Regions from separate parts of the Homo sapiens genome. Here regions 1, 2, 3 and 4 are each linked to region 5. Evidence: promoter capture Hi-C in 16 types of primary human blood cells and fetal thymus (Javierre and others, 2016). All regions are on one chromosome and are shown on one strand. The core of a region is centred on a gene start or on the middle of the fragment in contact, and the rest is flanking DNA. Distances in the headings are between cores, read along the strand shown.

Region 1 (2,700 bases), core at 181-2,680, 190 kb after region 5:
GCCCAGAGTTCTAGTCTTCTTCTTCTTATTATTATTATTATATATATATTTTTGAGACAGAGTCTCGCTCTGTCACCCAGGCTGGAGTGCAGTGGTGCGATCTTGGCTCACTGCAAGCTCCGCCTGCCAGGTTCACACCATTCTCCCACCTCAGCCTCTGGAGTAGCTGGGACTACAGGCGCCTGCCACCATGCCCGGCTAATTTTGTTTTCATATTTTTAGTAGAGACGGGGTTTCACCGTGTCAGCCAGGATGGTCTTGATCTCCTGACCTCATGATCCGCCTGCCTCGGCCTCCCAAAGTGCTAGGATTACAGGCATGAGCCACCACGCCTAGCCATTATTATATTTTTTTGAGTCAGAATCACGCTCTGTTGTCCAGGTTGGAGTGCAGTGGCGTGATCAAACTCACTGCAGCCTTGATCTCCTGTGCTCAAGTGATCCTCCCACCTCAGCCTTCTGAAAGTAGCTGGGATTACAGACTTGTGCCACCATGCCTAGCTAATTTTTTTGATTTTTAGTAGAGATGAGGTCTCACTGTGTTGCCCAGGCTGGTCTCAAACTCCTGAGCTCAAGTAATCCACCTGCCTTTGCCTCCCAAAGTGCTTGCATTATATGCTTGCGCCACCATGTCTGGCCGGATTCTAGTTTTAAGAAGGTGGCACATAGGCCAGGAGAAAAGCTTAGGGCTCAAACCAGGGAGTTAGAATGAAGATTCCCCTAAACCAAGAACCATAAAGAGTTTTGCCCTCAGAGAAAGGGTGAATTAGAAAAAATGATATTTGCTCACACCTGTAATCCCAGCACTCTGGGAGGCCGAGGCGGGTGGATCATCTGAGGTTGGGAGTTCGAGACCATCCTGACCAACAGAGAGAAACCCTGTCTCTACTAAAAATACAAAAAAAAAAAAAAAAAAAAGGGCCGGGCGTGGTGGTGGGTGCCTGTAATCCCAGCTACTCGGGAGGCTGAGGCAGGAGAATTGCTTGAACCCGGGAGGCAGAGGTTGCGGTGAGCTGAGATCACACCATTACACTCCACCCTGGGCAACAAGAGTGAAACTCCATCCCCCCCAAAAGAAAAACTGATATTTATCTGAAAAAGCAGAGAGCAGAGCAATGTGTGTATCTTGCCTTGGCTCAGGTTGGAGGAAAGAGTCTCTTCTGAGAATGTGTGGCTAAGAGCCAGTCCTCATGCCAGTTTGGAGTCCGAGTTCAAGTTACCTGCATATCTAAAAAGGTTACATGGGGCAAATTTAACTTTGACCTAGGTTTGTAGGGCATGGTAGTCAGCACAAATCCTCACCAGAGAGAGAAGGGTTACCCCAACACAAGCTTCAAAAATCCCCATAAAGTTCCAGTGAACGTGAACTGTCAGCAAAAATCACAGTACTGGAATGTCCTGAGCAAGAGTCAGCACAAATAAACAGAACCATACCCACAAAGAATTCAGACCCTGGAATTTTCAGATACACATTATAAACATAAGATGAGATATAAGTCTAAATATAAGTCAGCTTTCTGCTCAGGGATCAGAAAGCTTTTGGAGAGAGTGGTATATACTTGATGTTATCGTCTCAATTCATAGAATCTTAAAAAGTAGATGTCTACTTAGGAGAGTTTTCTCCTCTGGACACCTGATAATGAGTGTCAGGGTCAATTCCCAGTGGGGCTGAATGTTCAGTTTCTGAGACCTAAGCACCACTGTGAAGCATGTATCCATGACTATGGGCCTGGAGCTTCAGAACGGTGTCTATGAGATTAAAATACCCAAATGGTCATTTCCAATGTGGTTCTAACTCTAACTTTCATCAGTGACTGTTTCTAAACTAGTCTTCCAGGCCAGGTGCAGTGGCTCATGCCTGTAATCCCAGCACTTTGGGAGGCCGAGGCAGGCGGATCGCCTGAGGTCAGGAATTCGAGACCAGCCTGGCCAACATGGTGAAACCCTGTCTCTACCAAAATATACAAAAATTAGCCGGGTGTGGTGGCATGCGCCTGTATAGTCCTAGCTACTTGGGAGATTGACGCGGGAGAATTGCTTGAACCCAGGAAGTGGAGGTTGCAGTGAGCTGAGATTGCGCCACTGCACTCCAGCTTGGGTGACAGAGTGAGACCCTGTCTCAAACATATAAATATAGGGCCTGGCACAGTGACTCACGCCTGTAATCCCAGCACTTTGGGAGGCTGAGGCAGGTGGATCACCTGAGGTCAGGAGTTTGAGACCAGCCTGGCCAACATGGTGAAACCCCGTCTCTACTAAAAATACAAATATTAGCCTGCCATGGTGGCTTATGCCTGTAGTCCCAGCTACTCAAGAGGCTGAAGCAGGAGAATTGCTTGAACCCGGGAGGCGGAGGCTGCAGTACGCCAAAATCATGTCACTGCACTCCAGCCTGGGCAACAGAGTGAGACTCAGTCTCAATAAATAATAATATAATATAATATAAATATAAATAAAAAACTAGTCTTTCAGTTGTAGATTATGCTGGTGATGATGGGAGACACAATGTATCTATTGGTATTCTTTTGAGAAACAGAGTTTGTAAATTGGGCATAAGACTATGTATATGAGATTCATTTTTGAAAAAATACAAGATTACTACATACCAAGGATGAAATCTGTTACGGGATGTGTCAAGCCCAGCCTCATAGAGTGTTTCTATAATAGTTTAATATGAAAGCTTATGAAGATTTTAAGAAGT
Region 2 (2,700 bases), core at 124-2,623, 220 kb after region 5:
TCATCTAGGCTAGCACACTGCCTCCTAACTGGTCTCTCTGCTTCCACCTTTGCCCAACTCAAATCCATTCTCTTCCCAGTGGCCAGAATAATCTTTCAGAAACATAAATCAGATTGCATAATTCCCCCAACTTAAAGCCCTGTGTTGGCATTTAGATAAAATCCATACCCCATTCTTGAGTCCACAAAGACTCTGACCAAACCACAACTGCCTCTCCCACCTCATTTATGGCCACTCTCCCTTCTGCCAAATCTCCCCTGGCCACAGGAGCCATTTTCTCTGCTTCCTACACTCCAAGCTTGCTCCAGCCTCAGGACCTTTGCACCAGCTATTCTCTGTGCCGAGAATGCTCATCCTCATAATCTTGGCATGGGAGATCTTGTCTTGGCTTTCACATCTTAGTTTAACCATCACCTCTTCATAGAGGTTCTTTTTTGTTTTTGTTTTGTTTTGTTTTTGTTTTTGAGATGGAGTCTCACTCTGTCACCCAGGTTGGAGTGCAGTGGTGCGAACTCGGCTCACTGCAATGTCTGCTTCCTGGGTTCAAGCAATTCTTCTGCCTCAGCCTCCTGAGTAGTTGGGATTACAGGTGCCTGCCACTACGCCTGGCTAATTTTTGTATTTTTAGTAGAGACAGGTTTCACTGTGTTGGCCAGGCGGGTCTCGAACTCCTGACCACGTGATCCACCCGCCTCGGCCTCCCAAAGTGCTGGGATTACAGGCATAAGCCACCACGCGCAGCCTTCACTGAGGTTCTTAATTTTTCAGATAGCATTTTGTGTTATCTGATTTTTGGATCTTTAAAACATTCTGTCTACATGTCATTTTCCCCCTACTAGAATGTAAGTTCCTTGGGAACAGGGATCTTTCTCTGTTATTTTCTGAATACTTAGTGCCTTGAAAAGAGCTTGGCTTATAGTAGGTGCTCAATAAATATTTGTCAGATGCATGAAAGGCATTTTAATACTTCTTGTTAAATTGGGGTCGGGTGTGATGGCTCATGCCTATAATCCCAGTGCTTTGGGAGGCCAAGGTGGGTGGATCACTTTGAGCTCAGGAGTTTGAGACCAGCCTGGCAAACATGGCAAAACCCCATCTCTACTAAAAATACAAAAAATTAGAGGGGTTTGGTGGCATGTGCCTGTAGTCCCAGCTACCCCAGAGGCTGAGGCAGGAGAATCGCTTGAACCCCAGAGGTGGAGGTTGCAGTGAGCCCAGACTGTACCACTGCACTCTAACCTGGGCCACACCACGAGACACTCGGTCTAAAAAAAAAAAAAGAAAAAAAAATTAGTTTGTCTTCTTCTACCTAAGGGTGAAAATAACATGTGAGCTTCAAGATTCAATGCATGGCTTCCAACCCTGATGGGCTAGCTGGAGAGTGGTGGAGTGAGAAGACAAGGTGGCAGACCCAAGGTGGATTGTCAGATGGCAGAGATGGGAAGACACCAGGAAACCAGGCTCATATTTTCATGGAACCACTGGCTGCTGAAGCCTGTGACTTTGGCAGGCAGCCCAGGGTGAATCACTACTTAGATGAATGAGGAGATTCTGCTTTGTCCCTGACACTTCAAATTGTTATTCCTTCCTTAAGCAATTTATGGGCACTCCCATAGACTCTCTAGCCTTTGGAGCCTTTGCATTAGGAGCTTGATTTATGGATATCTGTATAGTTACAGGAAATAATGTCGTATAAAAGGCATTTAATATGGAGGGGCTTTATGACCCCTTGCTTGGGTGTAACCATCCCTGTCAGGGTGCCAGGAGAGAAGGGTGGAGCCTTTTTGGATGCTGGGAAGTGAGGGTGTGAGGTGTTATCCAGGTGGGAAAGGCATGCTGAGAGGGAGGGCCCCTGTGTGGTTCTGAACACTGTGCTCCATCCACACAGCCCTCCTCGGGGGCTGGGTGCAGCAGCTGTTGGAGTTCTTTCTTCACAGTAAATATTTAACCACGTAAGATGCCCAGGCTACCAGCCACTGCTAAGTGACAGGCAAAATCCTAAGCCACAGATGTTGCCCTCTGGCTCTCAGCTCAGAGAGCTGAGGCTGTTGACTGGAGTCCTCAGAACTTCAGAGAGCTTGGAAGTTTGTGCATTTCATCAACTGACTTGCTTTGTCTGCCAGAAAGCATTAAGCCTCAGAATTTATACCTTCCCTTCTTCATTCATTTGTGTATATTCATACATTGAGCACCTGCTCTGGTCCGGGTTCTGCGCTTAGGTGATTGGGATACATCAGTGAATAAAACAGACAAAGGTCTCTGCCTCTGGGACCCAACGTTCTACCAAGGAAGAGGGACAATAAACAATGAGCATACTATATATATTAATTATATGTAAACATTATATATTATAAGGTGATGGGCCTATAGATGAAAAATAATGTGGTGTAAAGGGAACTAGAATGTGTGGAGGTGGGACGGGGCAGGTTATGGTATTAAATAGCCAGGGTAAGCTTCACTGAACAAGTGAGATTTCATCAGCATCCTGAAGGAGATGAGGAATTTGTCAAATGGACCTCTGAGGGGAGAGAATTACAGGCAGAGAAAATAACTAGGCCCCAAGCTGGAAGTACGCTTAGAGTGTCAGAGCAACAGCAAGACCGGTGTGGCTGAAGCAGGCTGAATGAAGACTAGAGAAGTAGGAGACAAAATTGGAGTGGGAACTGGGAACTGGGGACCAGGCAGTCAATGGGGACCAGA
Region 3 (2,700 bases), core at 19-2,518, 150 kb after region 5:
AGAGTAGATAGGAAGTATTACCTGGTTGGGATTATAGGGTAGGAGTGAGCATTTGGGTGGTTACTGGCTGAAATGCAGTATTTTCTTTCAGAATATCTAAAATGTCTTTATCTTTTTCTAGGTTTGATGTGGCTAGCATGATGTCTGTTACACTCAGTTGTGATCACCGGGTGGTGGATGGAGCAGTTGGAGCCCAGTGGCTTGCTGAGTTTAGAAAGTACCTTGAAAAACCTATCACTATGTTGTTGTAACTAACTCAAGAATTTCTAAACTCTCCCAGGTCACACTGATTCATTCTTAACAAGATATTTATATGTTATTAAACAGGTGGTTCTTTTTATTTTAACCAGTTATTTTTATTATTGAGTCTGTCCAGATAAGTTATTTATAATGGGCATTACTGAATTTTTAAAATGCCGATTACACCCAAATATTGTGCACATTTAATAATCAGACACCAGATTTTTAGCTCTGTACTCCTAATTAAGGGACATGTATGTGGCCTTGCCTAGCCCTTTGGTGATAAGTACTTCCTCTAGGAAATGTACGATAGGTAGAATTGTGGTTCCCTAAAGACAAGTACATAAAGGTGACCCTGATGAAACCTTGAAGTTCTGAAATTTAACTGCCTAAAATGTTCTCCTTAGATGTGAGAGAAAGAGAAATCAGAAAAATTAATTCTCTTGGGGGAAGGGCTTGAATTGAAGCTTTACTTTAGAATTTAGCCCTGGTTTGAAATTTTCCATTACATGATCTTGGTTTATCATCGATGGGAAGGGTAGAAAACTTCAAGGAAAATAAGTGAAATTTTAAAAGTCAGCATTTTCTTAGACCTCTTCAGCTGATTGTTTATTTTTCTATGAATTCCTACACATGGTTATTCCCCCCTACTTGAGATAATCTAAATATAAACCAGCTACTTGATGTAACTGAGAATTTGTGTGGATATTTATTTAAACAAATGTGTAATTTTGAGTACAGAATTCAACAGTTACCTCCAAAAAAGAAACATTGTTAATATAATTTAACAGAAGTTGTGAAACTAAAATTTTCTAAGATTAACTGGTAGTTCATTGTAAATGAACATAATGAACAGAATTTATGACTCCACTGTGGAAAATGCTATCAAATAACTAAGGAATATATATGGAATAAGTGTACATATGTAAAATATTGTTACTAGAGTTAGATATGTGCCAAAGTCCATTTATCCCAAATCCTGTCTGAAAAGGAGGGGTACATTGGTAAACATTTTGGAGTGCTTAAAAATGCCAAAAACAAAATGGTAATTTCTACTTTGATAAAGTAAAAAAGTTAAATGTGTGTAAAAAAGTGTTCTGTGTCCTTCTACTCCAGCATCGTCTCATGTAAAATAAGAAAGCCCTAAAATACTATTGGAGAGAAAAAATTAACTAGGTTGCTACTTTATTTGCCTAAATACTTTTTTCTATTTTGTTAGATTTTGCCTTTCTTTTGGAAGGAAGGAGGCGATATTCTGGATTATAAAAATGAATTGGGAACATTATCACAATTCCAGACTTTCTATTAATATTTATGTGTTTTAATAAACGTTTGAAATTATTTATGACTACTTAAAATGAATCTGACCAGTGCTTCCTGGTATATGTAATATGTGGAGTTAGCCCCTGAAATTTGCTTTAAGTGTTTCAGTGTTGAATCTGTTTCTAAATATTCATTATTACATGGTACACAAGTGACACTCCATATATTCCACACAGACTTTTACCTTGCTGTATTATTATGAAAACAATACATTAATTTGATTTTTCAGTAATTAGTAATTTTAGGTTGAAGATTATCCAAAAGAAACAAGCTTATCACAAGGGACCATCATCAATATGATCCAAATCTGGTTCAAACATTCAAAACTTCAAAGATAATTCATCTTTCGCTAATGCTTGTGGTTCTGTTGTTCCCTTGAAAAAAAATAAAAACAGTTGCCTTCTAATAAACATTGTTGAGTTAAAAATTAATCTGAGCTATAATCTAAATCGATTCAGTCTCTTACCAGAACTGAAAGAAAAAAGTTAGAAATAGTGTTTTTGGTTCATATGATTATTTAAAAATTAAAGTATAAATCTTCAATATGTCTGGTTTAATTTTTGGTCTGTTGGTAATTATTTTCACATTTAAATTATTTAGATCTAGGGACAGCCATGTATGTATAAGCTCTCAATACAGATAAATTTTGAGTTTATATAATTGGCAAAATATGGACTACATTTAGGAGAATATAATCTAACACTTTTAAGCTCAAAGAGTTCCTGAAGCACCCCATGTTGGGGTGTGGCACTTATTATCAAGATGGAAAGTGTGGTCTGGTTCTGTTAGGTGATTTATTCCCAATTCTGAAGCTTGTGATTGTGAAGTTAGGGTATCCCAAGGCATGGTCTAGAAAGGAGTAAACCAGCACATTAGAGAGATAGGAGGAATGTTCATCATGTGTAATGCACAAGTCCTGGAATACATGGGGAAATCATCATCACTACTGGTAAGTGATCTAAAAATGAAGTCTGTAGAAAAATCTGGTCTCCAAATTTTTTTTTTTTTTTTTTTTGAGATGGAGTCTGTGTCGCCCAGGCTGGAGTCCAGTGGCACAATATCAGCTCACTGCAACCTCTGCCTTCTGGGTACAAGTGATTCTCCTGCCTCAGTCTCCTGAGTAGCTGAGATTACAGG
Region 4 (2,700 bases), core at 121-2,620, 240 kb after region 5:
GGTGGGCATGAAAGCGGTTATTTATTGGCAAATCTCCACTCAAAAAGAGTCTTCATGACATGGAATTCTCCTCTGAAGCATTGCCAATTTGTAAGCATCCCTGGCTACTCTTACTGGCTCAGTCTGTAGCTATAGTTAATTGTGGTTTATCTAACAATAATGGAGGAAATAGAGAAAAATAATAGAGAATAATAATGGAGAATAATAGAGAAAAAGTAGAGGCCAGAAATACTTTATACCTGGCTTGAAGATAATTATAGCATTACTTTTACAGCTGATCTCATAACTTTTATTCAATTAGATTAACATTAAAAATAACATACATCAACTGGAAGCTGAAGCTTGTGTCTAAGACTTAGGCTAAGGATCAGCAACAAAACAACTAGGGATTAAAATATTATCATAATTTACAAAGGTGTAGAAATATAGAAGGATAATTAGCTTCATTCTTCATAGCAGAACTCATTCTGGAAAGTCACATGTTATTCTTAAATGTATAACTCACATATGTATTCTACATTATTATTTGTATAAAGACTGATTGTTCAGGAGATGCAGGTCATAAAACAAGTGTTGTATCTCCTCTTCCCTGTGACAGGCTCAGAAAAACCATCATTATCACAATAGGTAAAGAGTTTGATAATTTTTAGTAAGTATTCATTTTAATGGTTCTCTGCTTCTTGTTATTTCTGTTCTAGACAAAAGGTTGGTCTGAGGATATTTGAGTTTTCTAATTACATTACTTATATTAACATTAGAAATAATGTTATATTTCTAATTATATTAATTATATTAACATGATTGAAAACAAAGTAAGGCTCAGTCTTACCTTAAAGGAAATAATTTTGTTCTCACAGGAGAGAGTTGAAATTTTCTCACACTTCACAGAGATAGTTACAGCCATACCTCTAGGCTGGCTATCTTTATACATACTTATAATAAATATGGTCCGGGGTGCATTATCTGAAATAAATATAATAAATGAGAACTCTAGTTAGAAGAATTCTTGCACAGGAACATTTGCGGAAATTTAACCAAAGGATAGTCCTTAATACACCTGTTCCCACTTTGAGACTTGGCCAGTCTGCAGGAGACTATGTACAGCTGGTCAGACATTTTTAAAAACACAGTTCAGGCCTGGCACAGTGGCTCATGCCTGTAATCCCAGCATTTAAAAGTTAAAAACAACCTTTTATAATCTATATCATTATACTCATAAAAGTTGCAGCATGTGTGTTGTAACACATATTAAACTGTGGGGTTGTTTGTTTGTTTGGGAGGCTGAGGCAGGCAGATCACTTGAGGTTAGGGGTTTGAGACCAGCCTGGCCAACATGGTGAAACCCCAGCTCTACTAAAAATACAAAAATTAGCCGGGTGTAAGTGGTGCATGCCTGTAATCCCACCTACTCGGGAGACTGAGGCATGAGAATCGCTTGAACGTGGGAGGTGGAGGTTGTAGTGAGCCGAGATCACACCACTGCACTGCACTGCACTTCAGCCTGGGTGACAGAGTGAAACTGCATCTCAAACAAACAAACAACCCCACAGTTTAATGTGTATTACAACACACACGCTGCAACTTTTTTGAGTATTTTAAAGATATGAATTCTAAAAGATTGTTTTTAACTTTTAAATGCTAAATAAAATATTTAAAATATATGTTAAGGTAAGTATTCAGTATTTTTAAAGAATGCACATTCACTGCTTCAACTCAGCCTAACTTTGATATTTGGAATTCATATTTTGGAAGGCACAGTAGACTTGATCATTTTCTTTTCTTAAGTTTTTTTTTTTTTTTTTTTTTTTTTAATTTTAGAGACAAGGTCTGTATATCACCCAGGCTGGAGTGCAGTGGCTATTCACAGGTACGATCACAGTGTACTACAGCCTCAAAGTCCTGGCCTCAAGCAATCCTCCTGCTTGAGCCTCCCAAGTAGCTAGGATTACAGATAGATGCCACCACACCTGGTAAACTATCAGCATTTTCAGCTGTAACAAGCAGGGATTAAGCATCCAACTATAGAGGTTTTAAACAGTTAATGCAATCACAATAAAGGGATTGGTGATTCAAAGGCAGGCTCAGAGAGGCATGACCCCTAGCAATGTCTTATTGTATCCAATTTTTTACCCCAACTAAAAAACGTGGATGCCTTATAAAGTTTCCTGTAAGTGAAATTATTGTCACTCCTGTGACTTTTCATCTGAGGATTGGGACTAGCACGGAACAATGTAAGCAGTAAAACAGAATGGGAAGAAGTAGCTAGTCATTTCTATGTTTGCGAATTAAAAAAAATACCTCTACAGTCAGAATCAGTCATATCTTCAAATAGAGGCCGATTTCCTTGGTCAATGAAGAGAACTTGGTCATTCAAATTTCTTATGACTGATAATTTAGATTCAAGCTTGCCAAAGTAATCTGATTCCAGGTTTTCTACAATAAACATTAAATCTCATTTAAAAATACATAGTTTCTTTGTTAATTGACAAATAAGTATGCTATATATTTTAGTTTTCTAAAACTATTAATGACAATCTTCTGTTCCAGAAGTAGCTACAATAAAGTTGCCTATTGTTTTTTAACCTACTCTCAAAGGCACACTCAATTTCTTGTTACCATTCAGAACTACTCTGCCTCTGAAGTGTTAACTTCAAATAGCCTACTTTCTGACCGGTCTCTTACCCTTCTAGTTTTCTTACA
Region 5 (2,700 bases), core at 1-2,500:
CCAGTAAGGACTCTCCCGTCCTAGCTGTGGGGAGACTCACCTCTGAGAGTCCAGTGTCAAACCAGCTGGGTGCCCGCAGGAAGGAGGGTGGCCGAAGGTAGAAGGGACTCAGGGAAGTAGACGTCGGGAAAAGATCAGACTCCAACAGGTGCTCTCCGAAGAACTGGTCAAAGAGGCGGCTGGGGGAGTGGAAAGGAAAGAAGGGGCGGCGGATCCAGGGGTGGTGGATGGCGATGTCCATGGTGGCTAGGTGAGTGTGAGGGGTCAGCTGGCTGGTCAGCTCCTTCAGCTGCAGCTACAGCCAGCCCCTTATATATGCAGTCTTGTGAAGCTTCTGGAATGGTGATGTCAGGGGTTTTATTATCCTAGCTCACCAGCAGTTCATGGAGACTTGTGATCCGGGATTTGGCAATGTGACACATACCCAGTACTCACTGAGCTAAGAAAAGAGAGACACAAACACGTCTGAGCCGGCCAGTGACTTGTCATGGTCTTGTTTCACTAGCTTTCTGTCCACACCCAATGGCACCCACCCCCACCCCTGTTCTCTGAAGCTGGTACAGAGTCAGGAATCCCAAGCAGGCACGCGGGGTGGGGGGAGGATGGGAGCCGGCGTAGTGTGCCCCTCCTCCTCCTTTCCAGTCCTGAATGCCAGGGGAATCAGGCCAGCAACTATCTTGGGCCTGGGCAGGGACTGGAATCTTCCTAGGCTGAGCCCCAGGGACATTAACTCTTTGTGAGTCCTTGGAAGAGAGCAGTGATGGTCAACATGTCAGCACCAGCCATCTGCCTCGTGCCCTGGGTTGACCTGGGTTTAGGAGAGGATCCCACATCTGGGCAGAAAGACCCCACCCCCTGAAAAAAGAGCAAACAGATTTCTTGCATCTTTCGTTCTATGTGGCTCTCAGAACATTAAATCCAGGAGTGCTTTAGGAATTGGGTGCACAGTGCCTGCCACCGAAGAGGAGAAAATGAGGTGTGGAAACGTGCAAACCGTTTGTGAGGGTCTCAGCGAGGCCTCTTCATGCCCCAGGCACCACCAGCTCCCCCTCCCCAGCTCGTTCCCAGCCAGGACCCTCAGCTGTCCTCTCAGGCCCCCTGCGACAGCTGAAGAGTGTGCGGGGGAGGGGACTAGGGGTCCGGGCGGCGCTGGTCACACCCTCGTTGCTCTCACTCAGGGCCCCCACTCCCAGCCCCTCCCCCCCCAAGAGGCTCGGCACTATTTTGGGTGGTGTCGACCCCGCCCCCACCTCCTATCGAGCCCTGGCTCTCCGGGCAGCTGGAGGGGTCGCGCTGCGCCTGTTGGGGCTGCACCTCGGACCAGGGCTTCTGCTGCATCTGCAGCCATGTCGGGCCGCTCAGTGCCACATGCCCACCCGGCCACCGCCGAGTACGAATTTGCCAACCCGAGCCGCCTGGGTGAGCAGCGCTTCGGAGAAGGTATGGCACAGACACCACCCCCTTGCCCCCCACCCCCACCCCCTGAAATTCTGGGCTGACCTCCCAACGTTGCTGGCCTCCACCCCACTCTGGGCTTAACTGATCTCCTGGGACCAGCCACCCCCCACCCCAGACTACCCCTCATCCCCTCCAAGCAGAGATCTTTCCCATTCCTGCTGACCTCAAGACACACTTGGTGCTTGCAGTGCTGATACCTGCTCTTTGCCGGCCTGGGTGTGCCTCCTTGTCCCCCTTCTATCCACCCAGGCCGTTTGGTGCCTCCTCCTCCTCCCCCTCCTCCTCCTTCTCCTCCTCCTCCTCCCTTTCCTTTCCGTTCTCTTTCCCCTCTTCCGAGCTGCCTTCTCCTCCTAGCTACAGTGTGGCCTCCCTCCCGTTCCCTACTCCTCCTGACTCCCCTCTTGCTCTTCCCAATCCCTCCTCTCCAGATTTCCCATTTCGCCCCTGTGCCAGCCTCATCCTCCCTCATCCTGCCTCTTGCCTTCTCTCTGCCCTTTAGGCCTCCTGCCAGAAGAGATCCTGACCCCCACACTCTACCATGGCTACTATGTCCGGCCTCGGGCCGCCCCAGCTGGGGAGGGCAGCAGGGCAGGGGCCTCCGAGCTTAGGCTCAGTGAGGGCAAGTTCCAGGCATTTCTGGATGTGAGCCACTTTACCCCAGACGAGGTGACTGTGAGGACTGTGGATAACCTGCTGGAGGTGTCTGCCCGGCACCCCCAGCGCCTGGACCGCCACGGCTTCGTGTCCCGAGAGTTCTGCCGCACCTATGTCCTGCCTGCTGATGTCGACCCCTGGCGAGTCCGAGCTGCTCTCTCCCATGATGGCATCTTAAACCTGGAAGCACCTCGGGGTGGCCGACATTTGGACACAGAGGTCAATGAGGTCTACATCTCCCTGCTCCCTGCGCCTCCTGATCCAGAGGAAGAGGAGGAGGCAGCCATAGTTGAGCCCTGATTGCCACAGACCCAGCACCCAGCAAATCCCTCTCTACCTCCCAAGGTGATATGGGCAGCTGCCCACCACTCCAGAGGTAGCAGCATCCTTGGGGGAAGGGAAAGGTGCATGGTCCACAATGTATGGTTTGGTCCCATGGGACATGTCATAGCCTTGGTTTAGTTTTGGGTGGAGCTGAATAAACCCAAATCTCAGGGCCTTGTTTGTACTGCTCCCTATTCTGTGGCCGGGAAGCTGGGATGGGGAGGGAGGGAGGAGGTCACAGCCAGCTAGACAAAAAGCTCCTCA

What was found. Contacts are between HindIII fragments. The CHiCAGO score rates a contact against its expected background, and 5 or more counts as called.
Region 1: a contact is called between a fragment that was not itself captured here and the fragment with the promoter of HSPB2 in region 5, in 1 of 17 cell types (activated CD4 T cells). The highest score is 5.3, in activated CD4 T cells.
Region 2: a fragment that was not itself captured here is called in contact with the fragment with the promoter of HSPB2 in region 5 in 1 of 17 cell types (neutrophils); the score reaches 5.5 in neutrophils.
Region 3: a fragment that was not itself captured here is called in contact with the fragment with the promoter of HSPB2 in region 5 in 14 of 17 cell types (naive CD4 T cells, naive CD8 T cells, total CD8 T cells and 11 more); the score reaches 8.4 in naive CD4 T cells.
Region 4: a fragment that was not itself captured here is called in contact with the fragment with the promoter of HSPB2 in region 5 in 1 of 17 cell types (erythroblasts); the score reaches 6.9 in erythroblasts.

What each region holds. Positions count from the first base shown.
Region 1 is chr11:112,099,372-112,102,071 of GRCh38, forward strand. No RefSeq gene overlaps it. Among named protein-coding and RNA genes, the nearest start is that of SDHD, 14 kb to the left of the region's middle. RefSeq lists a silencer at 400-608. The HindIII fragment of the contact is 205 bases long and covers 1,329-1,533 here.
Region 2 is chr11:112,127,075-112,129,774 of GRCh38, forward strand. No RefSeq gene overlaps it. Among named protein-coding and RNA genes, the nearest start is that of IL18, 36 kb to the right of the region's middle. The HindIII fragment of the contact is 2,155 bases long and covers 297-2,451 here.
Region 3 is chr11:112,062,285-112,064,984 of GRCh38, forward strand. It overlaps DLAT (dihydrolipoamide S-acetyltransferase), which reads left to right. Exons shown (of 14, transcript NM_001931.5): 14 at 122-2,120. The coding sequence ends at 251. It also overlaps a transcript of PIH1D2 not described here. Among named protein-coding and RNA genes, the nearest start is that of PIH1D2, 10 kb to the right of the region's middle. The HindIII fragment of the contact is 1,127 bases long and covers 706-1,832 here.
Region 4 is chr11:112,147,774-112,150,473 of GRCh38, forward strand. It overlaps IL18 (interleukin 18), which reads right to left. Exons shown (of 6, transcript NM_001562.4): 4 at 2,299-2,433; 5 at 830-963. Among named protein-coding and RNA genes, the nearest start is that of IL18, 15 kb to the right of the region's middle. The HindIII fragment of the contact is 2,063 bases long and covers 340-2,402 here.
Region 5 is chr11:111,911,484-111,914,183 of GRCh38, forward strand. It overlaps HSPB2 (heat shock protein family B (small) member 2), which reads left to right and starts at 1,251. Exons shown (of 2, transcript NM_001541.4): 1 at 1,251-1,440; 2 at 1,958-2,610. The coding sequence starts at 1,347. The coding sequence ends at 2,412. It overlaps CRYAB (crystallin alpha B), which reads right to left and starts at 287. Exons shown (of 3, transcript NM_001289808.2): 1 at 41-287. The coding sequence starts at 241. HSPB2-C11orf52 (HSPB2-C11orf52 readthrough (NMD candidate)) reads left to right here and starts at 1,253. Exons shown (of 5, transcript NR_037651.1): 1 at 1,253-1,440. RefSeq lists an enhancer at 2,002-2,655. The HindIII fragment of the contact is 6,880 bases long and covers 330-2,700 here.